Regions from separate parts of the Homo sapiens genome. Here all the other regions are linked to region 1. Evidence: promoter capture Hi-C in 16 types of primary human blood cells and fetal thymus (Javierre and others, 2016). All regions are on one chromosome and are shown on one strand. Each heading gives the region's core, a stretch centred on a gene start or on the middle of the fragment in contact. The rest is flanking DNA. Distances are from core to core; before and after follow the strand shown.

Evidence for each region. Contacts are between HindIII fragments. The CHiCAGO score rates a contact against its expected background, and 5 or more counts as called.
Region 2: a fragment that was not itself captured here is called in contact with the fragment with the promoter of ENTPD3-AS1 in region 1 in 1 of 17 cell types (monocytes); the score reaches 7.5 in monocytes.
Region 3: the fragment with the promoter of NKTR here is called in contact with the fragment with the promoter of ENTPD3-AS1 in region 1 in 9 of 17 cell types (naive CD8 T cells, fetal thymus, monocytes and 6 more); the score reaches 16.5 in naive CD8 T cells.
Region 4: a fragment that was not itself captured here is called in contact with the fragment with the promoter of ENTPD3-AS1 in region 1 in 1 of 17 cell types (activated CD4 T cells); the score reaches 5.2 in activated CD4 T cells.

Annotation. Positions count from the first base shown.
Region 1 is chr3:40,452,058-40,459,221 of GRCh38, reverse strand. It overlaps ENTPD3-AS1 (ENTPD3, EIF1B and MYRIP antisense RNA 1), which reads left to right and starts at 5,914. Exons shown (of 4, transcript NR_040100.1): 1 at 5,914-6,100. RPL14 (ribosomal protein L14) reads right to left here and starts at 1,883. Exons shown (of 6, transcript NM_001034996.3): 1 at 1,748-1,883; 2 at 1,231-1,332; 3 at 486-580. The coding sequence starts at 1,750. RefSeq lists silencers at 90-384, 1,598-1,647 and enhancers at 1,790-2,084, 6,021-6,090, 6,111-6,180. The HindIII fragment of the contact is 7,917 bases long and covers 1-7,108 here.
Region 2 is chr3:42,505,002-42,511,519 of GRCh38, reverse strand. All of the region lies in intron 1 of VIPR1 (vasoactive intestinal peptide receptor 1), which reads right to left. Among named protein-coding and RNA genes, the nearest start is that of VIPR1, 5.6 kb to the right of the region's middle. RefSeq lists an enhancer at 3,869-4,163. The HindIII fragment of the contact is 5,312 bases long and covers 1,947-6,518 here.
Region 3 is chr3:42,598,964-42,606,364 of GRCh38, reverse strand. It overlaps NKTR (natural killer cell triggering receptor), which reads right to left and starts at 5,679. Exons shown (of 17, transcript NM_005385.4): 1 at 5,587-5,679; 2 at 5,301-5,381. The coding sequence starts at 5,358. It also overlaps a transcript of SEC22C not described here. RefSeq lists a silencer at 5,376-5,585. The HindIII fragment of the contact is 13,164 bases long and covers 1-7,401 here.
Region 4 is chr3:42,620,306-42,626,830 of GRCh38, reverse strand. NKTR (natural killer cell triggering receptor) reads right to left here. Exons shown (of 17, transcript NM_005385.4): 6 at 5,315-5,402. ZBTB47-AS1 (ZBTB47 and NKTR antisense RNA 1) reads left to right here. Exons shown (of 3, transcript NR_125400.1): 2 at 3,019-3,067. Among named protein-coding and RNA genes, the nearest start is that of NKTR, 23 kb to the right of the region's middle. The HindIII fragment of the contact is 1,847 bases long and covers 2,145-3,991 here.

The DNA.
Region 1 (7,164 bases), core at 4,665-7,164:
AAGTGACCTCAAGGCATTTATTTTATTTATTTATTTTTGAGACAGGGTCTCACTCTGTCATCCAGGCTGGAGTGCAGTGGCATGATCACGGCTCTCTGCAGCCTCGACCTCGCTAAAACGATCCTCCCAACTCAGCACCCCCAAGGCCCCCCTACCTGGGATTACAGGCGCGTGCCACCATGCCCAACGAATTTTTTTTTTATTTTTTGTAGAGATGGGGGTTTTCGCCATGTTGCCCATGCTGGTCTTGAAACTTGGGCTCAAGAGACCCTCCCACCGTGGCCTCCCAAAGTACTGGGATTACAGGCATGAGCTATCACGCGCAGGCAAGACATTTTAAAAGTAAATAATCCCTGTCTACTTCTATGATGCAAATCCCTCTTCAGGATGGCTCTGAATCTTCCGTATTGTTTACTCCAAAACAAACTTTTACTAGCATAAACAAATCTGGGGATGGGAGGGAGGAGTGATTAGTGGACAGTTACCTGTGCGGAAACTTGAGGATGAAATCAGTGAGCTGCATGCACTTGAAAGGCATGGCCTGTCTCCTCACTTGAGTGCAAGGTCCATCGACCAAAGCCTAGAACACAAACATCAAGAACTTCAGTGCAAAATCTAACAGCAATTAAAATGGTCAGATGGTTCTGTAACATTACTTATCCGTTCAGGGCCATCAAACCCACACTACTATTTTAATAAATTGCTCAGAAAAGACAAGGATTGTCCTATCTGGGTTATATATATGTATGTCTTTTGCTCAACACAAACATTTCTCCACATCATTAAATGCTCCTTCTTAAACTATATAGTACCCCATAGAAACCAACCACATGTAATTTACAGGCAACTTTAGGACTCTGATCCCTGCTGATTTATAGTCAGTGGTCAACTCCTTAGTTTGCTTGTTTCAAATACACAGCAGTAAATACAAAAGTGCTTTCTACGTGCTGGATCTGTTCTAAACTCACTTTACGTATAGTAACTCATTTAAAACTAACCAACGTTTCAGCCTATAACTGGCTCTAGCTTAAGTGGCTAATACTGAAATTCAATACTAATAGCTAACTTCAGGCTGTGCTTAAAACCCGTACCATTACCTGTTTCCTCAATGGTAAAATAAAGCGACTACCCATAGCATCCTCATCTTACACAGCCATCGAGACAATTCATTATTGCCATCTGCAGGGCACATGTCCACTGCCATGTTTAGTAAAAAGTTGTGACACTTACCCTGTTCTGATCAATAACATCTACAATCGCGACCAATTTTCCGGCATGAGGTCCAAAGGAGACATAGGCCACCCGGCCAACCTCCACGAAGCGCCTGAACACCTAAAATTGGAGGAGAAAGGACAGTGAAACTTACTTAGAAATACTCGCTACATATGTCACCTTCTGCAGCTAAAGACAACATGGTTAAATTCAGCGAAAAAGAATGCTGCAGGGAACAAACGCCCGAGAGCCAGGCGCCAACCTGGATGGACGAAATCAGCAAACGCCTCAGTAGCTTAAGCCCGGTTCCCAACGCCCGCCAGCTCCCAGGTCCGCAAGGCCCACACGGCAGGACAAGGCTCTCGGACCACGAGCCGCATCAGCCATCCAGCTCCAGCGGCGGAGGCGCGCACGCGTGGCCCAAGGCGCGCCAGGCCTGCCGGGCCCTCCACGCGCTCGCCAGCGGCGAGTCCGGGAAGGGCGCGAGTCCGGGAAGGGCCCGATTCCGCTGCACAGCCGGCCCGGGGACCCTCACCATGCGCTTCCCGGGACCCTCTGGGAGCCGTTTGGCGCCTCAGCTTCCCAGCGGAGGTGGAGGTCGAGCGGCATGGTCGACGGCCCCGGAGCCCGCAACAGTAAGACTCACCATGTTGGCGGCGTTAGGCGAGAAGGAAGAAGACCCGCCCAACCCTGCGCATGTGTAGAAGAACGCACCGCCCCTGCGGTAACGAGTCACCGACGTGAGCACCGATTGGTTGGTGCGTGCGTGCGTGCGTGCGTACGCACGCGCTCGCAAGCTCACTGGGAAAACATGGCGGAGTCGGCTGGCGTTAAGTTGCTTTTTGGCAAAGTTGGGCGGCGAGATTGTTTTTGGTGATTTGGATTAGAAAGCTGCAGGAGGGTCATCGCTTAGTAATTTAGGGTTAAGAGTACAGAAGCTATGTCTTCCGTTGGTCGCATGCCATTTGAGTTCCTTTTTATTTCCTCGAGTTTTATTTGTTGGTTATTCATGGCTAGGTCTGTTCGCTCCTCACGTTCTCTCCTAATCTCAGTAACTTTGTTAACCTTTCATTTTCAAGTAATTCACAGTTACAGAAATATTGCTAAACTAGTACAAATAATTCCCACAAACCCTTCTAGATTCCACAAATGTTAACGTTTTGCATGTGCTATATCATTTGAAAGGAAATTGCCGACATGATGTCCTTCTATCGCTACATTTTTTTTTTTTTAAAGACGGAGTCTCGGTCTGTTGCCCAGGTTGGAGTGCAGTGGCGGGGGCTTGGCTCACCGCAACCTCCGCCTCCCGGGTTCAAGTGATTCTCCAGCCTCAGCCTCCCAAGTAGCCGGGACTACAGGCGCGCGCCACCATGGCCGGCTAATTTTTTTGCATTTTTAGTAGAGACAGGGTTTCACTATGTTGGCCAGGCTGGTCTCGAACTCCTGACCTCGTGATCTGCCTCCCTCAGCTTCCTAAAGTGCTGGGATTACAGGCGTGAGCCGCCGTGCCTGGCGTTACATTCTTTTATAGAGACAGGGTCTCCCTCAGTCGCTCAGGCTGGAGTGCAGTGGCGCGATCATGGTTCCCTGCAGCCTCTAACTTCTGAGTGAAGACGATCCTCTCGTCTCGGCCTTCCAAAGTGTTGGGATTACCGGCGTGAGCCACCATGCCCAGCCTATCTATACGTTCTTAAAATGTGTATTTCCTAACAACAGAGAGATTCTCTTATGTCATCAGTACACTTATCAAAATCAGGAAATTGATATTGCAATAGTACTATTATCTAACCTTCAGTCCTTATTCAAATTTATAAGTTGTTGCTCCTATGTTCCTTGGAGCAAATGGGAAAAAAAATTGTTTTTCCAGGCTCTTGATCTAATGGAGGATTACAAATTGCAATTATTTATCAGGTCTCTAGTCTTTAACTGATAGTTTTAGATTTAACTGTTAAATTTGTAACATGGGTTTGTTGGAGTTTTCCTCATTGGATTCAGATAGTGAATTTTTGGTAGAAATGCTATGTCCTTGGTGCATCACATCAGAATACATTCTCTCTCTCTTCACTCTCTCTCTCTCTATATATATACGCACACACAAACACTTTTTTTTTTCTTTCTTTTTTTGAGATGGACTCTCCCTCTGTCACCCAGGCTGGAGTGCAGTGGTGCGATCTCGGCTCACTGCCACCTCTGCCTCCCAGGTTCAAGCAGTTCTCTGCCTCCCGGGTTCAAGCAGTTCTCTGCCTCATCCTCCCAAGTACCTGGGATTACAGGTGCCTGCCACCACGCCCGGCTAATTTTTGTGTTTTAAGTAGAGACAGGGTTTCACCATTTTGGCCAGGCTAGTCTTGAACTCCTGACCTTGTGATTCACTTGCCTCAGCCTCCCAGAAGTGCTAGGATTACAAACGTGAGCCACTGTGCTTGGCCACACACATATACATTTTTTCGAAGAGATGGGGTCTGGCTGTGTTGCCCAGGCTGGAGTGCAGTAGCTATTCACAGGTCTGATTGTAGCCTGCTACAGCCTTGAACTCATGGGCTCAAGCAGTTCTGCTTCAGCCTCCAGAATAGTTGGGACTACAGGAATACACCACCACACATGGGTTCCCAATATTGTGGTGGTATTTTATTCTTTAGATTTTTACCCAGGCCAGTGCAGAGAGGTGTTACCTTTTATCACTTGATTAAGGTGATGATCTTTGCCATGACAGTTCCCAGATGTATTTCAAGCCTTTCCTCTAAGCTCTATGCCAGCATATCTTCCCTGAGACTGCTCTAGCAGCCTCCTAAATTCTGTCTTTAATCTGTTCTCTGCTCAGCAGTTAGAGGGATCTTTTAAGTAAGTAAATCAGATCACATTATTTCCTGTTTTTAACAGTTCGATTGCTTTTCATAATATTTGGAATAAAATCTCAACTTCTTACTCTGGCCTTGTATCATATGCTTTAATACCCAGATACACCTTATGCCATCCCTCCTTCATTGTGTTGAAGCCACACTGGTCTTGAATGGGCCAAGCTCTCTCCTCCTCCATGACCTTTATACATGGTGTCTCTCTTGCCAGGAATGGTCTACCCATTGTTAATACTCATCGTGTAGCAGTGCCAACTTATCTCTTGTATTTTTTCCTAGATATTTTTCTGAGAGTTAACCAGGCTACCACATAAAAAAAGGTTAAGTCCCCACCCTTCTTTTTCTAGCTCACCTTGTTTCCCTCAGAGTTATCACAATTGCAATTGTTTGACTTGTTTTGCTGCCCACGTAGGTGTTGTTTCGTTCCAGTTAGAATAAGTTCCATGAGGGCAGGACCTTTGCTGTCTTTTCTGTTTTATTTTCTCACCTTAGTCTGGTAAGGGGCTCAATAAATAGGTAGTGAATGAATCAGTCTTTAGGTCTTGTTGTCTTGCTTTATAATTTACAAAGCAAAAGATATGAATGAAGAAGAATGTTCATTTTAGCATTTTTTTTGCTACTATCTCCAAACTGGAAATTACCCAAAGGCCCATAAACAAGAGACTGGATAAATTGTGATAACAATCTATAGCAACGGAGTCTACAGCAACTACATGGAACAATGCGGATGAATTTCATAAATAACACTAACAAATAAGCTGACACAATATATCCTGTATGCTTTTATTTATATCAAATTCAAAACAGGCAAAACTAATCTACAGTTCTTATAAGTAATGATCATATTTACCTTTGGTGCAGGCAGCAGTGGCTAAAGGGGAAAAGGGGAGCTTCTGAGCTGCTGGCCATGTTGTTTCTTCATCTGGTGTTAACTACGGGAGTGTGTTATTATTTTTGTTTTAAATTTTTTTAGAGACGGGTCTTGCTATGTTGCCCAGGCTGATCTGGTACTCCTGGCCTCAAGCCATTCTCCTGCCTAAGCCTCCCGAGTAGCTGGGATTAGGGGCACGGGCCACCCCGCCTGGCTGAAGTGTTTGCTTGTGAAAATTCAGAGCCCTATCCATATGGTTTATGCGTTTTCTCACCAAATGTATGTTAACCTAAAAAGTTTTTTTTTAATGCAGTTTCCTGGCTGTACAACCAGAGAACTTTATTTGCAGGTCTGGTGAGGGGCAAGAATCTGCATATAAAAACAAGCTCTCAAACACACTTTGAACTTCCCCGAACACAATTTGAGAAACACTTTGGGACTCCCCCTACAGTTACAGAATTATTTTCTAAAGTACATTATCTTGTTATATCACTCCTGTTTAAAGTTGATTTTTATCCCCTATCTTACAGGATATAGTCCAAACTCCCTAGTCTGGCATTCAAGGCACTCCAAAATCTTACTCCCAAACACCTTCCTAGCTTTTTTCTCCGACCATTCTGCGTCTCTCATTCCTATTTCCCGCAGCATTTCATGCAGCTTGAGCCCCCTGTTTCCTAAAATGTGCTCCCCACAAGCATCTCGAGATCCCCATCCCAGGCAGCCCCAGGCAGTTTTTAAGTTTCTACCAAGCTCCACTATACTGGCAAGGCAACTTTCCCCAAGCAAGTCTTGTTTCCTTCGGAAGGTCGCAGGCGCCCAGGAATGAACAGGATAACTGCTAGTGGCTCCAGATGTCAGAAAACAGATGACCAGATCGAGCACGCGCAGATCTCTGGTTGGTCGGCTGTGTGCCTCCGGAAGGCCCGCCCTGCTCGTCCAATCACGGAGAGGGAGGGCACGTTGAGAGTGATGCCAGGAATCAAGATGGCCGCCTGGGACCGCTCTCAGCCCCTTCGGCCTCTACCTGAAGAGCCACGCCCCGTCTGCTACACCCAACTGATTGGTTCCTCAATCACAGAGAGGAAAGGCAACATGAGGATGACGTCAGTTACAAATATGGCGTTTTGGACGGGCTCGATAGTTTGCTTGGCCTCTACTCAAGGTGCGTCCGGACGTCCAATCACCAAGGGGCGCAGTCGGCTCTTAAATGTGGAGGCAGGGGCCTAGACACTCAGGCTTAGGGGATGTCAGCTGGTACTGTGTACGAGCTGTCCTGTAAACCGTCGCCCGTCCCCTGAAGCCGCGCCCCTCTTCTCTTGCTTGTTGCAAGGGACGGATGTGAAGGGCTGGGCGGGCGTCGAGCTTTGGGTTCTTGCAGTGGGTCATAGACCTGAGGGCACTAGTCCCGCGGCCCAGATGGGGGATGCGAGGGACAGTAGGAGCACGTCCACTTGTCCCACAGTCTCTGCGGTGTCACGAGGCCAGGACTGCCTGCCTGTAACCAGATTGGCCCCTGTATTTGTCAGCTTCAGCTGACTAGATATGTCTCAGTTTTGTTTGTTCAGACACTGGCGATGGGGGCGTCAGTTTAGCAGACAAAATATTTACCTGTAGCCCCAAAGAAAAAGAAACATAAGTCAGTACAAGAATCAAACCAAAAGCTGTGCAGAACCCTGACTTTCTTTCTTGTTCTTAATAACTAACCTTCCAGAGAAGTGACCTAACCCTAGTTATGACCAAATTGACATGGTAGCCATGTGCATAACTACCTGGCAACGTGGACAGGTGCATTTGTATTTAGGAGTGAAAAAATGTTTGTTGTATCAGTTTTTGAAATTTGCAATCTTAGGAACCCTGAAGCTGAGCAAGACTGTTCAAGCCCAGTCAGCCTAAGACCACCAGGGACAAACCTGTAGTCAGCAAAACCAGGTCTATCGATCTTTTTTAATGAGGGAGATTGCACACCAGAGACACCATGGGACATTTTACCAGGGGAAGGAAAATATAAAGTTACAGGATTTTGAGGAAGTGTAAAGTTTAGATGGAACTTAAATGAAGCAGGGTTTTAATAGCCTCAAAACAAAGCAGGACTGTGAAAAAGGGTCAACATCAGGCCTAGACTGCAGAGTGGACCCATTGTCCTGTTTTTTTGAAAACCTTTTCTGAAGCTTTGCAACTGGCTGCTTGTAAATTGAAGCTGTATCTCTGTGTTAAAGTGACTTAGGT
Region 2 (6,518 bases), core at 3,353-5,852, 2.1 Mb before region 1:
TGTGTCTGGGAAACAACCTCCTTCCCTACCTCTAGTTCATGGAGTTCTGATGAACCCTCTTCCAGGGGATTGACATGTGACCAAGGCTTAAGTCCATCAGAGCATTCCTGGCCACAGTGCCTGACACATGGCCTGAGTCAGGCTACTCAGAGCCAGGAGGCTCACTCCTGGGACTTTGGATTAAGTGATTAAGAAAGTGAATTTGGTTTTTCCCCACTGGACTGGAAACCTTAAAGGAAGCAAGGGCTCAAGCTTCTGCTGTCTTCTTGTTGACAAGTGGAACACACGGATAAAAACTATACAGCTGAAGGCAGAATAGAGAGATGGAGAAAAATCAGGTTCTCTTAATATTGTCTGGGTCTGTGAATGCAGCCATGCCTGAAACCAGCTCTACTGCTAGCAACATGAGCTGATGCCTTTCCTTTATGGCTTGGATCAGTTGAGTTTTCTGTTGGTCGCTGTAAACAAAAGTGTCCAGCCTTGCCCTCTGAGGACAAGATAATGGACGCCCTCACTTTCTGGGCCTTCTTAAGCCAGGACTGTGGCCATATAGTTTGCCAAGAAATATTTGTTTCCCAATCACCATGGGCGCCTAGGATTTCTGGCAGCTTCTGCTTGCGACTCTCTGAGGGTAGAAGAGTGTTGGGTCAACTTCTCCAGCCAACTCTGCCCCCTCAGCAGCACAGACACACAGCCCTTCCTTAGAGGCAGTTTGGAGAGAAAGGAGGGGTGGGTACCGAAGCCTGTGGTGTTTATGAAACAGTGGGTGTGGTCTGGAAGATGAGCTCTCTCTTTGTCACAATTTAGTTTAGTGTTGAGCCCTATCTGGGGAGGGGTAGAGGAAATGGAGACCCAAAGAGGGACCTGAGGTCACCCAGCAAATGCGCATTCCCAGATGGGACCTAAGTCTCTGACCGCTGGTCTGGACTGCATCAATCCTTCAACACAGCCTCGCCTTGGACCCTCTGGTCAACCATTGCCCTTTGAGGGACCGGGCCAGGGCAGCTCCCTCTAGTCCTTATCACTAAGGAATTCAGGCAGACTTTGGACTTCCTCTCCCACTTATTTATTTCCCTATTCTAAACATCCTCATTATCCCTCTGGACTTCAGGAACACAGAGAGAGTTGAAAAATTCCCTGGCTGAATATAGCCAAGTCTACTGATGTCAGGGAAGTGTTCCAGGGTGGGATATAGCTGGAGTCTGGGCTTCCTACAGAATGGGTATGCTGTACTCATTCTGTAGAGGTAGGTCATGGAGGATGTGCAAGTTAGACAATTAGAAGTGGAGTAAGAGCACCCCAGAAAGTAGAGCAGCGTGTGCACAGGCATGGAGGCATGAAAATGCCTAATACATGCAAGGCTGTGAGAAGCCTGGTGTAGCTGCAGCAAGGAGTTCTGGGGGCATCAGGAGACAAGTTGAGAGATGTAGACTGGGGTAGGATTGGGAAGGGCCTGGAATGCCAGTTTTCAAGTGTGAGCTTTCACTCCTAGGCCATGGGGGCCAACAGAGACTTGAAGCAGGAGACTGAGGATGGGGGATACACATTTTACAAAGATCCCTCAGGTTGCAGGTGGTGGGGCTGAAAGCTACTGCACCAGTCCAGGCAGGAACTGATGAAGCCTGGGCAGGACAGTGGGTATAAAGAGAGGGCACAGAGAGGAGGGGGCAGGTGGAATGAACAAGACTTGGTTAGTCCCTGTCTCCAACTAGACTCAGGATTCTCCTGCCAACTCCCTGTCATTCACCTCCCACATCCCGCTAGCCCCATGGCAGAGGACAGAAGAAGACCAGGATGGAGAAGATGCTGTGGACTTCTTCAGTCTTCTTCAGCCTGGGTCCCTTCTGGGCTTAGGAACTCCTGCCCCAAAGAAGGTGCTGAGAGCCCAGCCTGGACCAAAACTCTCTAGCCTCAGCTCAACGGCAGGGTCAGGCTGCCTTTAAGCTTACTTTTTGGAGCTCAGTCAAGCATAGGAATTGGTGAGGGGCTAGAGAGAAAGCCCTGCTTTTTCCTGTCCATGTGGGGTTCTCTGAGATCTGGAGCAAAGGCTAGGTGTGGTGATGGGGGTATGGGTGAAGATGCTGGGAGTTGTAGCTGTTAGATGCAAGGGGCTCTGAAAGACAGGGTGGGCCATGCTCAGGTTCGTAGGCCATGTTCAATCCCCTCAAGGGAAGCCTGAGACCACAGCTACTGCCTCGAATCAGAAGCCCCAGCCTCATCATCTGGGGCCAGAGAACTAGGGCAGGAGGAGCCAAGTAGCACAGCAGGAAGCATGAGTCCCTCCGAGGAGAAGCTGGTCTCTGAGAGGAGCACAGAATGCAGCAGGCTGGATAAGGTGAGGCAGGAGAAAGAACTGTCTGCAAATTGCCAAGCATGCAGAGCCTCCATGGATGATTTGTGCTTCTGAGGTTTGTCAAGAGGGCTATTTTATTTTTTTCCAGCCTGCAACTGTTAATGGAGGCAGGGGAATGGGGAGTAGAGGACAGGGGGCTCAGGAGTGGTTTCATTTACCCTCTCCCACATGACCCTAGCCCTTTACAGAAACCATCTCATATCTCACGACTTATTTACTCTACTCTGCCAGCCCCCTGCTGAAATCATGGGGTAAAAAAGAGACACAGGGGGAATGGAGGAGCCAGAGAGAAAGCAGTGTGATCACAGGCACACAGGACAGCAGCTCACCTTCCCATCCTTGCTGGCTTTTGCACGTGAGTGGGCGAGAACGTGCAGCCCTTGTAGTTGGGAGGCAAGAGGGGAGAGAGGAGAGAAAAGGTGGGAGGAGGAAGGGCAGAAAAGGAGTGGGTAAAGGACATAAGTTGGATCATGGGATCCAGGAGTCACAAAAGAAAGGAGAAACATGCTCCCAGCTTTGCAGAGAGCACTAAAGGAAATCAAAATAAGACTTCCCCTCATTGCAGGGCAGCCTGCTAGGGTGATGGGAATGTATAATAGTTTGACCTGGGCAGTGGTGACACAGGTGTACACATATGTGACAATTCACTGAGCTGTCAATTCAGATTTCTATATTTTACTAATTTTAAAAATATCTAAAGTCCCAGCGCAGCATGTGACACGCCGTCGCCCACCCTGGAAGTAGTAGCCCCTCTTCACGAGGTGGCAGAGCCTAGTTCAGACCACAGGTTCCAGAATGAGACTGTCTGCTGCTTCCTGGCTGGATGACTTGGGCAATTTACTCAACTTCATCTATAAAATGGGGACAATAACAATACCACCTACTTCTAGAATTGGGGTTGAGGGTCACATGTAAAAGACACCAGCCAGGCACCAGGGGGGTTAGCAGCGACTGCCAAAGCTCTAGTCCAGTCCTCATGCCAGGCTGCCCCTGCTGTCCACATCCAAGCCTAGCCACAGCCGTAGTGCCTTGCATAACCCCAGGTAGGCTGAAGGTCCTACCCACTGACAAGTGCCAGCCGTACCCACCAGAGGTCTCAAGTCTGCCAGTTACCTTCGCCCCGTACTGATTTCTCTTCCTTGTATTTTTACATCCCTTAGCCAACAGCCCAAAGCCTCCCCGCTGCAAATTCTTTTTTTTTTTTTTTTTTGCCAGCCTCACTTCCTCTTGGGGAAGGCTGAGCTCTGGTAGAAGAAGAGAATGAGAACTGCTGTGTGAGTGTTGATGGGGATGGGGAGGAAGAGGGGGAGACATAAGGATACAGGATTGTGCTTTGGGTAAGAAGAACTTTCCACATCTCAGAGTGATATCAGGACAAGGGCTCTCATAATTAGCAGAACCCAAGCACAGACACTTAGCTTGTTCCCATCTAAGGGTTCTTCTTGGAAGGTTTCTTTTGGGGGCATGAAGCCTTTATTTGCAGAGGAACACAGGCTAAGCATTTAGTTTAAATCCTCTGCTGCTTGTTCACGATCCTGGCCACACCTAGGGAACTGGAGTTTGCAGGACTCAGCTTATAAACACAGTGCCTGTGGGTGACGTTGGTGTTGGAGCCACCTGCAGAGGGCTGGACTCCAGCACAGGCAGCCACAAGGCTATGAGTCCTTAGTACATGGAGATTGGTTGGTGGCCTCTTCCCCCTCCTCTGGTGACCTGCTGTGCAGGAAGAACTTGTTTTGAAGTTAGGTAGTAGGAGGCACTTCCTGAGAGATAATGGGCCGCATGAGAGGGGCTGCACGAAAAGACTGGGTCCTCCCAGTGGAGGCTAGCCTGAGGCTCACTGCCAAGGCACCCTGCTTTCTCCCTGCCAGCTCGCTGGACAGTCCCGTCAGACACAGACATGAAACTCCTGCGAGAAGACCAAGCCCTGGATAATATCACCACTCATCCTGTGGCACTTCATTACATTCCGGCTGGGGATATTTGAATATTAGATATTAAGCAATTCCTGTCAATTTTGTTAGGTGTGTAATGACAGTATCATAGTTATATAGAAGAGTGTCCTTTGGTTTTAGAGATGCATTCTGAAATGATTTGGGGTAAAAGGTCAGGAGGTTTATAATTTACTTTAAAATACTTCAGCCCAAAAGCAAATGAAGCATATATTAATTGTTAGATGTTAACAATTGTCAAACCTCGGAATTGGGTATTTGCACGTTCATTATAATGTTGTCTCTGCTTGTTTAAAAATTTTCACAAAAAAAGTAAAAATTTAAAACACTATACACGTGGTGGAGAGATTAAACTGTTTTTTTCTTCTTCAGAAATACTTCTAAGGGGCCAGGCGTGGTGACTCATGCTTGTAATTCCAAGCACTTTGGGAGGCTGAGGCAGGTGGATCACCTGAAGCCAGGAGTTCAAGAGCAGCCTGGCCAACATGGCGAAACCCTGTCTCTACTAAAAATACAAAATTTAGCCAGGCATGGTGGCGGGAGCCTGTAATCTCAGCTCCTAGGGAGGCTGAGCCAGAAGAATCGCTTAAACCTGGAAGCTGGAGGTTGCAGTGAGCCAAGATCACACCACCACACTCCAGCCTGGGTGACAGAGCAAGACTCCATCTCAAAAAGAAAAAAAAGAAAAAAAGGAAATACTTCTAAGTTATGTGAGAGAGTACATACTGACATTTTCAATGGGTACAATAAAAATCATTTTGTGTTAAGAAGTCAGAGAGGGGAAGGCAGAATCTGGGGGTTGAACAGAAGGATTTAAGAAAGGGACTAGGCTTTACATAGTCCCCAGGCCCCATTCCCTGCTCCATGGCCAAAGGAGCCACAGTGAAGGGCCCAGCAATGGCAGAGTTGTGGCACGTGGCAGGTTAGAGCCCCTACCCTGGTCTCATGGCCCATGTTGGATTTCCACTGAGGCTGCCCACGTTGTGAAGGCCCATCTGCTCTGAGAGGCCCCATTGCCTACCTAGGCCTGGAGCCTTACCCCCAAAATGTTTTGGCCACCTAATGAGGAAACGTCCCCCATTCCCCAGGACTCCTGCTGCCCTGGGAACCTGTGGGAAGATGGGGGCCAGAAATAGCTGTATAAGTTTGCACAGGGCTCCCAAGCTGGGGACGTAGGAGAAGGGATGACAGTCACACAGTTCACATAGCCACCTTCACAACCTTTACCTCCTTCAAAGCTCACAGAAGTCCTGCTTGAAAGACAAACCCCCTTTCACAGAGACCCTGGTGCTCCAGGGGTAGATTATGTCCCACTCAGGAGGCAGAGTTGGCTCCAGCCTAACCCTCTCCTCCCACTTCTCCTGCACACTGGGCGGAGGCCTCTCACCTTCCCTTTTGTGGTGAGGAACCCGAGGCCCTTCCACAAAAGTTAAAGATGTTCCCAAGGTCAAGCCATTGCCATGGAGTGGAGTGAGGACCAGCTCTCCTGTTTCCAGCCTGGGCTCCCCAAGGATGTCCCACAAACCTCAGAGAAGGCATAGTCTTAGTGCACCAGGACAGGAGGGTAGAAACTTCCAAAAGGGCTCGCTTTTCCAGCATGGTACCCTGGGAGCCCTGGCCAGGCCTAACTGAGGTGGTAACCTCACTTGAGGAGGAGGCCTGACCCAGATGCAGCCATGTTTCCCAAAGCTCACAGGGTGGCCTGCTGGGGGCCAAGAGGGCCTGGGCAGCTGTGGTCCGCCTCTGGAGAGGCTAGAGGCAGGTGGCAGGGGCAGCAGGATGCCGGTGGCAAGGCAAGGCCTTCAGGAGCTTGTGGCCACTGATCAACCTCAGAGTTGGGGAGAAGTCGAGCCTCTCCCAGTCCCTGGGACTCCTCCTTCTGGGGGCAGGCCCATTGGTCCTGTCAACAGAGGCTGTTTTATGGTTTAGGGTGAAAGATTGGCCCATCTGGTCAAACTCTTTAGGGCACAGTCCTGCTTCTTCCAGGAGCCTCCCCTGACTGTTCCTCTCAGCAACCCCTGCCCCAGTTCTAGGAGGCTGTACCCCACATCCACCTGGACTCTTTCTCCTAAGTCACTGGGTCTGGTCTCCCACACCAGATAGAGAATTTCCCACGAGGAGGCCTGTGACCCTCCTCCCCCAGCCTCGTACTGGGCATTGCCCTGAGCAGCTCTGCTTCTGGATGAGGAGTCCCTGTGCCTGCTGTCCGGGGG
Region 3 (7,401 bases), core at 4,430-6,929, 2.1 Mb before region 1:
TACTTAACAAATACAGACTGCTCTACAAGAACAGTGATAGAATTTTAAGAAACACTGCATTATCGAAAATCACATATAAAAATAACTATTTCCATATAAAAATGGGAACTGGGGGGGACAAGGGAGTTTCCAGTTGCAGTAAAAATATTTTTTTCTTTAGGAGTATCAATAATAAATTTTAGCTATAAGAGGACGTTATAAAATCTAAACATCATTGAGGAAACCCTACAACTGACCAAACCTCATTTCTGCCTCCATTCCCAGCACTGTCATTAGCACAGTGGCCTTCAAATCAGTTAGGACAAACAAGAATGACTCAGAGCAGCAGAGCTATCCAACTGTTCTCTCCCACGCCACTCTTCCCCACCTGCTTATCCGATTGTTATACCAAACAGTAGTGTGCCTAATTAAAATTGTGCTCCTTAATCCACCCTATTAGAGTAAGTTCATGTTACTCTAATACAATCTATAAGATGGCATTATTTAATTACTCTTCTCAACAATCTTGTTATGTAAGCACTATTACACTGGAGTCCTATTATTAGGTTAATAATATAACAGGTTAATGAGCATATACAGTGCAAGTCATTTAAATTTCAGGCCATTGCATCTAGTCACTCTACTCATGAGCTTATGACCCAGGGTGACCTTGAGAGCGGAGATGCATTTCTCCTATTCCCTCAGAACAAACCAGATCCCATATACCTCACTCGAAGTATGAGCTATTTTGAATGTGAGTCTAAAGTTTAGTTTAATTTTGAATATAAGCAAATTTTCCTGTCCTGTTAGCTTTGGAACCAAATTAAGAACAAAACTGTATAGTAGTTCCATTTCACAAAGAGGTTGTTAAACGGCTTGACCAAGGACACAAGTAGTACTCAAACATTTGCCTGAATCCTTTGTCGCCTCTTAAGACTAATTTCTTGGTATCACTTCTAAATACTTTACAATGTTTGCTAAAAACACATTTTCCAGTCTGTTTTTATGAATCTTAAGCAGTAAAGCAAATCTAAACATAACTAATTATATTAAATGTATACAGTTAAACATACTGACTAAAAGACATTGTCAGAGTGGGACAAGACCCATCTATTTGCTATCCAGAAGAAATCCACTTTAAATATTATACAGAAAGGTTAAAAGTAAAAGGATTGAAAATGATATACCATGTAAACACTAATAAAACGGAAGTAACTATATTCATATCTGAGGCAAAGGAAACTTCAGAGCCAGGAAAGTTACTAGGAATATAAGGTGTCATTACATAATAATAAAAGAGTTCACTAAGAAGACAACAATCCTAAATATGTATGTACCCACCTAAGAGCCTCAAAATGAATGATGCAAAAACTAAGAGAACTTAAAAGAGAAATACGGCCGGGCATGATGGCTCATGCCTGTAATCCCAGCACTTCGAGAGGCCGAGGCAGGTGGATTGCTTGGGCCCAGGAGTTCAAGACCAGCCTGGGCATCATGAAGAAACCCTGTCTCTACTAAAAATACAAAAAATTAGCCAGGCATGGTAGCTCACACCTGTAGTCCCAGCTACTGGGGAGGCAGAGGCACGAGAATCACTTGAACCAGGAAGGCAGAGGGTGTGGTGAGCCAAGATCATGCCACTGCACTCCAGCATTCCAGCCTGGGCGACAGAGCAAGACTCAGTCTCAAAAAAAAAAAAAAAAAAAAAAAAAAAAAAAAAAAAAAAGGAGAGAAATAGATAAATCCACAATTACAGTTGTTATAGTTGCAGACTTCAATACTCTTCTCCTGGTAATCAATAAACAAGTAGAAAATCAGCAAAGATATAAAAGAATTGACCAACACTAATAGCCAACTGGATTTGACATTTATAGAACACACTACACAAAAATGTACATTCAAGTGCAGAATGTACATTCAAGTGCACAAAGAACGGAAATCATGTGTGTTCTCTAGCCATAATGGAATTAAATTAAAAGTCATTTGAGACTGTCTCAAAAAAAAAAGGTATCAAATCAACAATCTATGCTTCAACATTAAGAAACTAGAAAAAGAACAAAATAAAAATTGAAGCAAGCATTAGAAAGAAAGAGAACAATGAAATTGAAAACAAAAATAGAAACAAAATTCAATCAGATCAAAATCTGGTTCTCTGAAAATGTATAATGAATAAACCTCTCGTCAGACTGACAAAGGAAAAAGACAAAAGGAAGAATTATCAATATCAGGAATGAAAAGAGACACCACTACAGACCCCACAGATATTAAAAGAGGCTGTGACAAACAACTCTAAGCACATAAACTTGACAACTTAGATAAAATGCACCAATTTCTTTAATAAAAACCACAGGCTAGGCACCGTGGCTCACACCTGTAATTCTAGCACTTTCGGAGGCCGAGGTGGGCGGATCACTTGAGGTCAGGAGTTCAGACCAGCCTGGCCAACATGATGAAACCCTGTCTCTAATAAAAATACAAAAAAATTAGCCAGGGGTGGTGGCACATGCCTGTAATCCCAGCTACTAGGGAGGCTGAGGCAGGAGAATCGCTTGAACCTGGGAGGCGGAGGTTGCACTGAGCCGAGATGGCACCACTGCACTCCAGCCTGGGTGAAAAAGTGAGACTTCGCCTCAAAAAAAAAAAAAAAAAAAAAGTTGTGTAAAATCCACTATTTAGTTAATATACTCAAAAAGTGCTAGTTATTTCACAAGACTGAACCATATGAAATTTCCAACTATCAAATGATTAAACCTAGAACAATGTAAGCATTGCATTTCCTTGTTTTATATGATTCGGCGTTCTCAAGAGTGCTAATCACATCTACACATCTATCACAATGAATTGCCTTGGATGTTGAGGAATGAGGTTCATTGAACATTTGTCAAACATATTCTGGAGATTTTTCACAACACAGGTTATGTGCAAATCTAGGATCTGAACATTTACTAGGAAAGGAGTACTTAACTACAGAAATTTTTATTTGTACTTTTTCTTAAGCTGTTTTTTTTTTTTTTTTTTTTTTTTTAGAAACAAGATCTTGCTCTGTTGACCAAGCTGGAGTGCAGTGGTGCAATCATAGCTCATGGCAGCCTTAAACTCCTGAGCTCAAGCCATCCTCCCACCTCACCCTTCCAAGTACAGGTGAGCACCACCATGCCTGGCTAATTAAAAAAAAATTGTTTTTTGTAGACAGGGTCTTGCTATATTGCCCAGGCTGGTCTCAAACTCCTGGGTTCAAGCAATCCTCCTGCCTGGGCCTCCCTAAGTACTGGGATTACTGGTATGAGCCACCATGCTTGGTCATACTTCTACTCTTCAGCAATCTACTATTTTTCTTTTCTTTTCTTTTTTTTTTTTTTTGAGACAGGGTCTCACTCCGTCACCCAGGCTGACATGCAGTGGTATAATCTCTACTCACTGCAACCTCTGCTTCCCAGGCTCAAGCAGTCCTTCAGTCTCAGCCTCCCAAATAGCTGGGACTACAGGCAAAAACTAAGAGAGCCACCATGCCCAGCTAATTTTTTTATTTTTTGTAGAGATGGGGTTTCGCCATGTAGGCCAGGCTGGTCTCGAACTCCTGACCTCAAAATGATACACCCGCGTCTGCCTCCCAAAGTGCTGGGATTACAGGCGTGAGCTATTTTTAATTCTTAATAGAAAATAACCCTGTTATCTAAAGCATGGATTCACTACAAAATAAAGATTAAGGTCCATCAAGGCTTTCTAGTAACACTTATTTAAAAAAAAAAAAAAAAAAGATCAATCAAGGCTAAAAACATTAAAAAGAGAGAGAAGGCAACCAAATTTCCAGGATTATCTCATCCCTTTGCTCGAAACCCTTTAATATCTTCCTACCTCACTGAGTCAGTCCTACAGGCCATTTCTTACTATTCTCTTTCCTCTTCTACTCCAGCCACACTGGGCACCCTGCTGTCCCTCAAACATGCAAGTACAGTCCTCCATTGTTTAATAACCAGGACGGATTCTGAGAAATGTGTAATTAGGCAATTTCGTCATTGTGTGAACATCATGGAATGTATTTAAACACACCTAGATGGTACGGCCTACTACACACCTAAGCTATATAGTCTATTTGCTCCTAGGCTACAAACCTGTACAGGATGTTACTCCACTGAATACCGTAGGCAACTTTAACACAATGAAGTATTTGTATATCTAAACACAGCTAAACATTAAAAAGTTACCAAAAAAAGGTATTATATATAAGACCATTGTTAAAGATAGAAATGTCATTTGGCGCCTGACTGTATACTACTCCTCACCTCAGGGCTGTGCTGTTTCCCTCTACCACGAATGCTCTTCTTAAATACGGCTCACTTCATCTCCTTCTGATACCTGCTTAAATCTCATCTTCTCAAAATGGCCTTGTCTGACCAACTTATTAAAATAGTATCCCAACTACAAGTCACTGTTATTTTTTTCCTAGTTGTCCGTCTTCCCCCCAATAGAATATAAACTATAAAAGGAAGAGGCCTTTGTTTTATGCGCTGCTCTATCTCCAGACCCTAGAACAGTAGCAGGCTCTCATAAGAATATGCAGAACAAGATGTTGCACAAAGACAACACATATATATATGTCTCCAATTAAAACTTTTGTCACGGATAACAAAAAAAGCTAAGAAAACAGTTTGAAACCCTGCACGCTCTGCTACTTAGAATGAAATAACTATGCTTTAGAAGGAAATGTTTCATTTAAAAAAAATACACTAACAAATGTCTGGATTCCCTAAAGACAAACATTAATGCTAAGTGCATGCATGCTGCAATTCTGCTGGTACAAAATGCTCTGGTTTATCACAAAAGATCTTCACTAAGCCATTTTCCCAGGAACCACGAAATTCTAGCTAAAGATTCTTAAGGAAAAATAGAGGCAAAATTAACATATTAGTGATATATCGTGATTAGGAAACACACAATATTTCCTACTAGTTGAAACTTCATAGCACCAAGCAAGATAACCGGAAATCGGATCGGGAGTGTCTGCCTCACGGAGACACTGGGAGAGAAAAAGTCCTCAAAGAACTGCACCTCCTTTTCTTGGCGCCAGGCTGGCTACGAGGACTCAGTCCGGAGATGCAGCGGGGTGTGTGGGGTTTGGCAGGAAGAGGCCCGGACTGCGAGTTAGGGGTGTGCCCAGGCCACCTTCCTCTCCCACTGATTTTCTCTCAAGAGAAAACGGAAAGTTGCCTGCGCCTCCTACCCGCTCCCAAAAAGGCCGGGGGAGGGTTGCTGAGGGTAGACCCCTCCCCTTCGCCAAGGCAGGCCTCGGCCCCAGCAGCGCTCCCCAGTTTCCAGCTCACCCGGCTCCCGGTTGATCTCGATGTCGAAGTGGCACTGCGGCCGGTCCTGCGCCCCCATCGCGACCGAGGTGGCGGCAAGAGCTGGGAGAGAGGGGGAGAAAAGCGGTCAGGGCAGGGGCGAGGGCGGGGGCGAGGGCAGGGGCGAGGGCGGGGCTGAGACGAAGTCCGCGCCACGGTGCCTCACGCCGGCCCGTCGCGACAGCGCAGGAGGCCAAGACGAGGCCCCCTCCCGCCCCGGGCCTCGCGGCTCCCACGCAGCGCGCACGCATGCGGGCGAGCTCTTCACCTGGCTGGCCTCCAGCCTGAGCGGGTCCCCGTGAGCAGAAGAGAAAGCACTGCCACTGCAGCCAAACCCCAACGCCGCTAACGGAACGCCGTCTCCTCCCCCAGGCCGGGCCTCCCAATGCCACGCTAAACCCCGCGAGAGTCGGGACAAATACCGCGAGAGTACAGTCTAGATGGGGGTGGTCAACCGAAGGTGGCGGCAGCGGGGGCGTACGCACGGGGGCGTACGCACGGGGGCGTGTCTGGGGAGCTCTCGAGGAGCCTCCAGCCAGCGCTCCTATACCTGCGCGTTCCCTGTTTGCCCCCCCCTTTGAAGTCAGTCGCCCAATCTGAAAGCCGTGGATGCGCCTGCGCCCTCCATCTCGTCAGGTGTGGCTGTGAGCGCCGCGCATTTTCCGATACCGCGAGACTTCTCTGTTTCCGAGCGCTGTGAAGGAACTGAGTGAATTGAGGCTTTGAGTTTTCGTTAGCCAAGACGTTGTGTTGCTCTGTGTTCTTTTTGGCCGGGAGTGGTTATGTCCGTGTCCTACTGTTAGGTCTTTTAGGCTGAAGAATGCGTTCCTTCCCGCTTTGGCACCAGCGTCACTGGCACCGTTTTTGTCCTGTGCTTACTGACCATTCTGCATCTTTTGTGAAGTTTCAGTTCCAGTCTTCTGCCCGTTTTTAAATCTGGTCCTTCGTGTTTAACAGTTCTGGATACAAATGTTTTGTTAGATATATGTATGCTCTGAATGAAAATCTTTTGTTACATAAATGATTGCGAAGTCTTTTTCCCAATCTGGGCCTGTCGTTTCATTGTTTTGACGTTTTTGGCAAAGAAGTTTTTAATTCTGATTAAGTCAATTGGTCAGTTTTATATTTTAATGGTTTGTGCTTTTCCTGTGCTAGGAAATCTCTGCCTACCTCAAGTTCTTGAAGATATTCTGTGTTCTCATATATGTTTTACATAGTCTTTAACGTGTAAGTCTATGATATGATCTAATATCATTAATTTTTGCTTATGTTGTCAAGTAAGTGTCAACATTTTCCTATTGGGATATACAGTCGTTCCATTACCGTTTGTTGAAAAGACTCTTTTTTTTTTTTTTGAGACGGAGTCTCGCTCTGTCGCCCAGGCTGGAGTGCAGTGGCGGGATCTCGGCTCACTGCAAGCTCCGCCTCCCGGGTTCACGCCATTCTCCTGCCTCAGCCTCCCAAGTAGCTGGGACTACAGGCGCCCGCCACTACGCCCGGCTAATTTTTTGTATTTTTAGTAGAGACGGGGTTTCACCGTTTTAGCCGGGATGGTCTCGATCTCCTGACCTCGTGATCCGCCCGCCTCGGCCTCCCAAAGTGCTGGGATTACAGGCGTGAGCCACCGCGCCCGGCCTGAAAAGACTCTTATACATTGAATTACCTTCGCCTTGTGACCATATATGTGTGGGTCTGTTTCTGGATTTTTGTTCCAATGATCTGTGTCTGAGTACCACACTATTTTATAAGTTTTTTTTTTAAACTATAAAATACACATTACATGGGCGGGCGTGGTGGCTCATGCCTGTAATCCCAGCACTTTGGGAGGCCGAGGCAGGCGGATCACGAGGTCAGGAGATCGAGACCATCCTGGCTAACACGGTGAAACCCTTTCTCTACTAAAAATACAAAAAATTAGCCGGGCGTGGTGGCGGTCGCCCGTAGTCCCAGCTACTCGGGAGGCTGAGGCAGAAGAATGGCGTGAACCTGGGAGGCAGAGCTTGCAGTGAGCCGAGATCGGTCCACTGCATTCCAGCCTGGGTGACAGAGCGAGACTCCGTCTCAAACAAAAAAAATCTATCTA
Region 4 (6,525 bases), core at 1,819-4,318, 2.2 Mb before region 1:
AATCTGAATGCCCAGGACCAGTTACTACCAGTTGAAAGCAAAAATTTCATTAGAAAAAAGTGAGTTAAGATCATCCAAAATAAAATTTCAAGGAACTTTTAACTAATTCACATCAAATAATTAAAGAACCTTTCATGCTTCTACATTTGAAACCTTTGTTTGGTGACGTATCACAACAGACTACTTTCAGGAGTTAATGAGCAAATGTTCGGACCCTAGTTACTGTTCAGTGATATTAGATACACATTGAAGTTAAGTCACTGAACATAATAATAAAGCAGCATTAACTACAATTTTAGGGACCTTCTCAGAGAATAAAAAGGCAAGAGAGATGAAAGCGTAAGTGCAGTCAAATCTTAGCCACAATATCTTCTTTTCCTGTCTAATCTCTGATTTTCCCCATTATCAAGATTTTTTTTTGGAGAACACACACTGACCAATTTTTATCTATATTTAAACAAATAAATCTATTACTACTCAGATCAAAATACTATTATACCATGAACAAAATGCTTTATAAGAGTTTTGAATGTAATAAATCTTGAAATATTTAAAAATAAGCTTAAAATTATCATAAAGGCATTGACAACATGAATAAGTCAAAAAAGAACATAATGTTTGAAATAATGTGGAGTTTTCAATGAATGTTGCAAAAAAAAAAAATAAGTGACTGTAGGTGTAAAGTAGTACAGAAGAGGGAAATAAAGATAACTTCTGTCCACTTTAGCTTTTAACATGCAATGCTTTCCCTTCAACTCCTGAAACTATCACACTGTCAGGGAAGAGGCACCAAATTGTACAGAATGACAACACTTGTATAAGGGTAATGGAAACTAACCAAGCCACTTGACAATGCTCTACCCATGTGTTCCAAAAGTCACCAAAATAGAAGTGCTTTCTAAAATTCAGCACTAATGTTAAGATAATACACACCAAACATTACTAGATAAAAAATTTCTTCCACATTGCTAGCACGTAAGTCACATAAACATTAAGTTATTAAGCCTGAATGTTAGGGATGACACTTGATATTCAGAGAATATGGTTTATGGCTAAGTTTCACGAACATCTTTGCTCATGAAAAAATCTGAAATTAACATATGAAGGTATTACCCCAAAAAAAGGAAGGAAAAAGCTAGAGCTTCTCAGGTTATTAACACTTACTAGCATTTCTTCTTACATAAATTTATGAATACGTGGGTAGAAAAAGCATTTCTACCCCGAATCTAGTTTTATTACCCAAAACATCAACACAGCTTTACAAACCCCTTAAAACCAACTACTCCTCAACTCTCCTTGCTCCACTACTTTGTAATAATCAGCACTTCTCTCCCATTCAGGTACTTGCAAGTCAGATTCTTAAATGACATAAAACATATTCTAAAACTTATGCCCCGCCCCCCCATTGCCCTATTTATGACTGTTAAAATGTAGCAAACATGTTTTGTTTAAAGTTCAAAGTTTGACTCTTCTATATTATCTTGTTTTCTTACATTGTTATAATTATTAATGACCACTGACAGTGGCCAGTGACAGGAACTGTTCTTGCAGGGTCTGCAGATCCCTACTCTATGGCTGCGCAGACTCATGTTCTAACAGCAGCTGATGAAGAGACTTCTGTTGCTCTTGATTTAAGATGAGCCCAATACTTCTTTAAGACATTTTTCAGACTAATGAAAACTAGGCAATTATGACTATTTCCATTAGGCAAGACAATGTTTGCACATAAATCATTCCACACATTCAGGAACTTACAACTACCCTACAAAATACCTTCTTCCTTTTACATCCATATTTTTATACCAATGTTTAAGAAAAACGAACTGAAGGTACATAGGAAACTAAAATCAAGGTTTCCTGACAGCTATATTAGTGTCCTATCCCAGAAGTTACTACAAAGCTATAAACTATTTACTCAATCTTTTTCATGACTATTTTATACAACATCTTTGTCTTTTTGATTAATGTATATAAAGACAAAAAAATTACAGCCAGAATTAATAAGCTATCAGTAACAGCAAAAGGGGAAAGAATGTTTCCCCAAATGTCATTTTGTTTTCCAGCAAAATGTTTGATGCTTCTAATCCTTAACTAAAATAAATTCAGAGCAGAGTGGTTAATAAAATTTTGAGCTTAAATAAGCTTAAATTTATAGTAAAGGCATTAATAATATGAATAAGTATGCAGCATTCTTTTTCTAGCTATCAGTTTCTTCCAGATTGTAAATAAAATTTCTATAACCTGGACTTTACATGACTTTTCAAGAATTTAGCATAATCTACAGAATGAAAAGGTTGGACTAGATAATCTCTAAATCCCTTTCCACTCTATGACTTTATAATTCCAGCTTTTATTGTGGTTTCTTCCTATTCTTTAACCTAAAAAATAAGAATACAAAGGACAAAATAAATACCAAATTAACTTGGTAACTTTAGTCCCAAATCTTTGAATTTCTTCAAAAATGTTCAAAATAAAACCACTGTTTCTTTAGTGATTCATGGGTATAGTGCCATATATCACTTCTTCCACATTTCTTGAGCAGTACTATTCCAAAAAGAATCAAGTTTTCTTCTATATAGACCCCCGAGAGCAAAATCATTATGACAAATACAGTACTAGAAATAAAGTTACTGTAAAAATTACAAATAGATTTATAGAAGAAAATCTGATTTTCATCATGTATATAATTGTTCCAGCCAAAGAAAGCAATATATGCAAAATTATGTTGAATAAAAATGACATATGCCTAAGGAAGGGGGAGTTTTTAGATGTGTAAGTAATGAAGACAGTAGTTAATGCACAAAACATAAGAATCCTTGAGGGATGTCTTGCAAATACCCATACTAACAGCACCAAATCTACTCCTTAGGAATTGCAAAGTAACAGATTTGTAACAAAAACTACAAAAACAATTTTGCAAGGATGTATTAAAAATCCTTATTGAGCCTATAAAGCAGGAACTATAAAGACAGTTCTTTTTATTTTACCACCATTCTTACACTATCCTTTCTTTTTCAGATTCCAGAACTGCCACTCAAAGTGCCCTATGAGGAGCTGTGGTAACAAGGTAAAAGGCAGGAGCCATCCTTTGGAAGCCATCAGCAAGCTCTGTGACCATCAGAGCTATTATCTGTGATCATATACATAACCTGAAGATAGCATATCATACTTTTTTTTAATACTTTCAACTCCAAAAGGCTTTGGGCTTGTAAAAACATAGTTTCAAAGATTTTTATTTTATCAGCCACCATCTCCATTTTTACCTATCCTTCCCATAAATGCAAGGATATGTTTTAGTTCTGAAACATGAAAGTTAATTTGATTTTATCCTGCAACTCTTGAGAACTGATCTTTCTAGCCAGCATAAAGAAAGTATACTGACACAAAAATCTTCAGAAAAAATATAGGAGGATTAAATACTCAATTACTTCCAGGATTGCTTACTCCTTTCCAAAGGGACTGCAAACCCCTTTCCAGAAGGAAATTTCAAACTAAAAAATTTTCTTTCAATCAGAAGTTCAGTGATTTTACTGCCATCTAAAGTAAATTAACTTTGAAAATAAGTATAAAAATTATAATTGTAATTTATTGATTCAAAATTTTGTATTTGGCATTCCTTCTCAAAAATTGTAGTCCAATATAAAATTAGGCCATGTGGAAAACAGTAAAGGCCTTTACTAGATATTCCTAGAAAACACTGAAGCAAGTACTAAATAAAATAAAAATAAGATGTTTTTGAAGGGAGAATCTCGTATACTGAATTTTAATTAGTTTATGTTTAACGATAGCATTTTTAATGAGTTTTAACTCTAACATTTTATGAACAAGCTAATGTATGTAACAATATCAAGAAGCTGCTGCTACTTGATAAATCAAATTTTAATTGTACTGATATAAAAAAGGAAATCTAAAAGAAACTTTAGAGCCCTCAAATGGTAGCTTCTTGACCAATGAATCATTACGTTTTTCATGTTCACAGTTCAGATAAGCTTAAAAATGGAAATGGGAAACCTCAACCAAAGGATAAACAATTTTTACATTAAGTTACTATTAAAAAGGCTTTCTGAAAATATTTCTTTCTACTCTGTATTGGCTCTTAAGAAGGTTAAGAATAGAAAATCACTCTGTTAAAGAAGAGTAATAACAAATAACCTATGGGATCAAAACAAGAGAACAACTGTTGTAGGTCTTTTACCTGTATAATTCTAAGCATAATCTTTTATCAGCTTTCCATTTTTAGGACATTCTTAGGAACAGAATGCCCCTTATCTGAACTTTATCAGATCATGTAGAAATATATTTTTCAGACAAATTTAACATTTGAGTTTTGTATGTCAGTAATATACTCCTTTAAAGACAGGGAAGCGCCATTCATACTCATTCATTCAGAAAGATGACAAAGAAAATGTTTTCAATAAATTATTAATGAAATATTTCTCCAACATACATAGGACAACTGAGATTCACTTCCAATCAAAAGCAATAACCCTCATGCTGGACAGTTATCTTTCACATTTTATATGATAGAATTATGATAAAAATAGGTTTTGAAGCAGCCTTAGATAAGAATATAACTAAAAGTATGCCAAAGGATTTATTTAGAATTTTCAGATAATAAAAAGGTAAGTTTTTGGTTGTGCAATGCACATCCATGTAAATATATTTGCTTTTTCAAAAGCAAATTTAGTATTCTTAAGTTTCCTGAGTGACAATCTCATAAATTTTGGTGGAAATGACAGCAACATTGGGTTATTTCAATTATGCATGGAGACCTCATAAAATGAGTTTTTTAAAATGCTCGCTCAACAGCAGGTCACCTATCTCTATACAACATCAGAAAATAATAGTACCTCTCTCAAAATTGCCTCAAAGAGCAACAGTAAGAGGAAAAAACAACCATGCAATGGTTTACTCAAACTGCTTTCCCTGTTGAGGGGGTACAGTAACTGAATACTCGTCTATGAACAATTTTTACATGTTCATCAATAGTTTATGTTCCAATCTAGTTTTGGTAAAGTCAGCACTCGAATTTGACAGGGGCTTAAATATGCCGTCATCTTTTCTGAAGATGACGGCATATTTTGAAAACAATGTATAAGTTTTAAATTTTTTAAGTCCCATTCTTCCAATTCAGGATATATGCTGAATGCTGAGGCAGTTGTTAGACCTTATAAGTTACTATGATATTAGAAATTAATAATAAAAATAAAGCTGACAGAATTTTAGCATTAAACTTGGTTTAACTATACCATCTTTCTTATGAACAGCGCTTCTCTGTTTAAGAAAAGCTCATCTCTGAATTATGCCTACTCACATGAAAAACTGGGAACCATTGGTATGTTTCCCTCGATTTGCCATTGATAAAAGGAACGCTCTGTCATGTTTGAGAATAAAGTTTTCATCTGTTTGAAGAAAACACAAATTTGTCAGTCTCCAATTATAAGTCACTTTAAAGTAATGTTCAAGTAATAAATAGAAAGCAAAAGATGAAATTCCTCTTCTGGTCAGTACAGATAACTTGACTGAACACTCAGAAAAGAAAAATTTAAGCTAATCAAATAACAAAAGCATAAAAAGGCCAAAAGATACTAATTAAAGCCTTGAGGAAAAGAACATATATTTAATACTTCACACAAACAGCCTTAGAACAGTCACTTTTAGTAGTAACATACTTTGGCTAAATGATATTTAAATTATTAACTTTCAGGGAAAACTAATAAAATTTTAGAAAAATCTCTAGCTTACTTCCTCCAAATTTCCAATTAGCTTGCCTAATGTGCTATACATGGAAGAAGTTCAATAATCTTTTTAGGTGTTTAATTTTTATACGGTAAATTTATTATTCAACTTAATTGAAGCTAGACTGTAAGACAAAAAAATTATGTTATATTAAGTTACAGGAACATATCTAAATTAAGTATGTGTATACTCAATTGTATCACAAAATTATCTAAGGAAGAAAGCCCTGTGAAACAAAAATTTAAATAGCAAAATACAATTTTAAGGTACAAAAGTATCTGCCACAAGGAACAACCACAAAGTGGCCTACAGCATTAGTTTTAAATTGCTACATAACAGAACCAGCTAAATAGCTGTTTCCTACTAGTTCAAAGGAAAAAAAAATCTGTGATAAAGATCACTTAGAGTTATTTTAATTCCAGCAGGAATATCCTTGAAAACTAACTTATATGTCCTTTTAACATTCATACAAACAAATCTTCTTCAGAACAAACAGAAACACAGAAAACTTTAAAAAGTGATTACCTTGGGAACAGGCTTCTGAAAAAGAGTAGTAATCCATTTTCCCCCAAAGGAAATATAAAAGACTATTATAACACTGAAGCTATTATAGCGTTAAAACCTAGTAATATTAGATTTCATTACAAATCTCTGCAACTGACTTTTCTAAGGCTTTTTGGGGCAAGTGCAATAGTTAGATTTATGCAGATGCTACTATTATGAGAATAAACACAGTCATAGTTCTAATATACAAAAGAAAACATACAAACCTTTGAAAAACGAAAT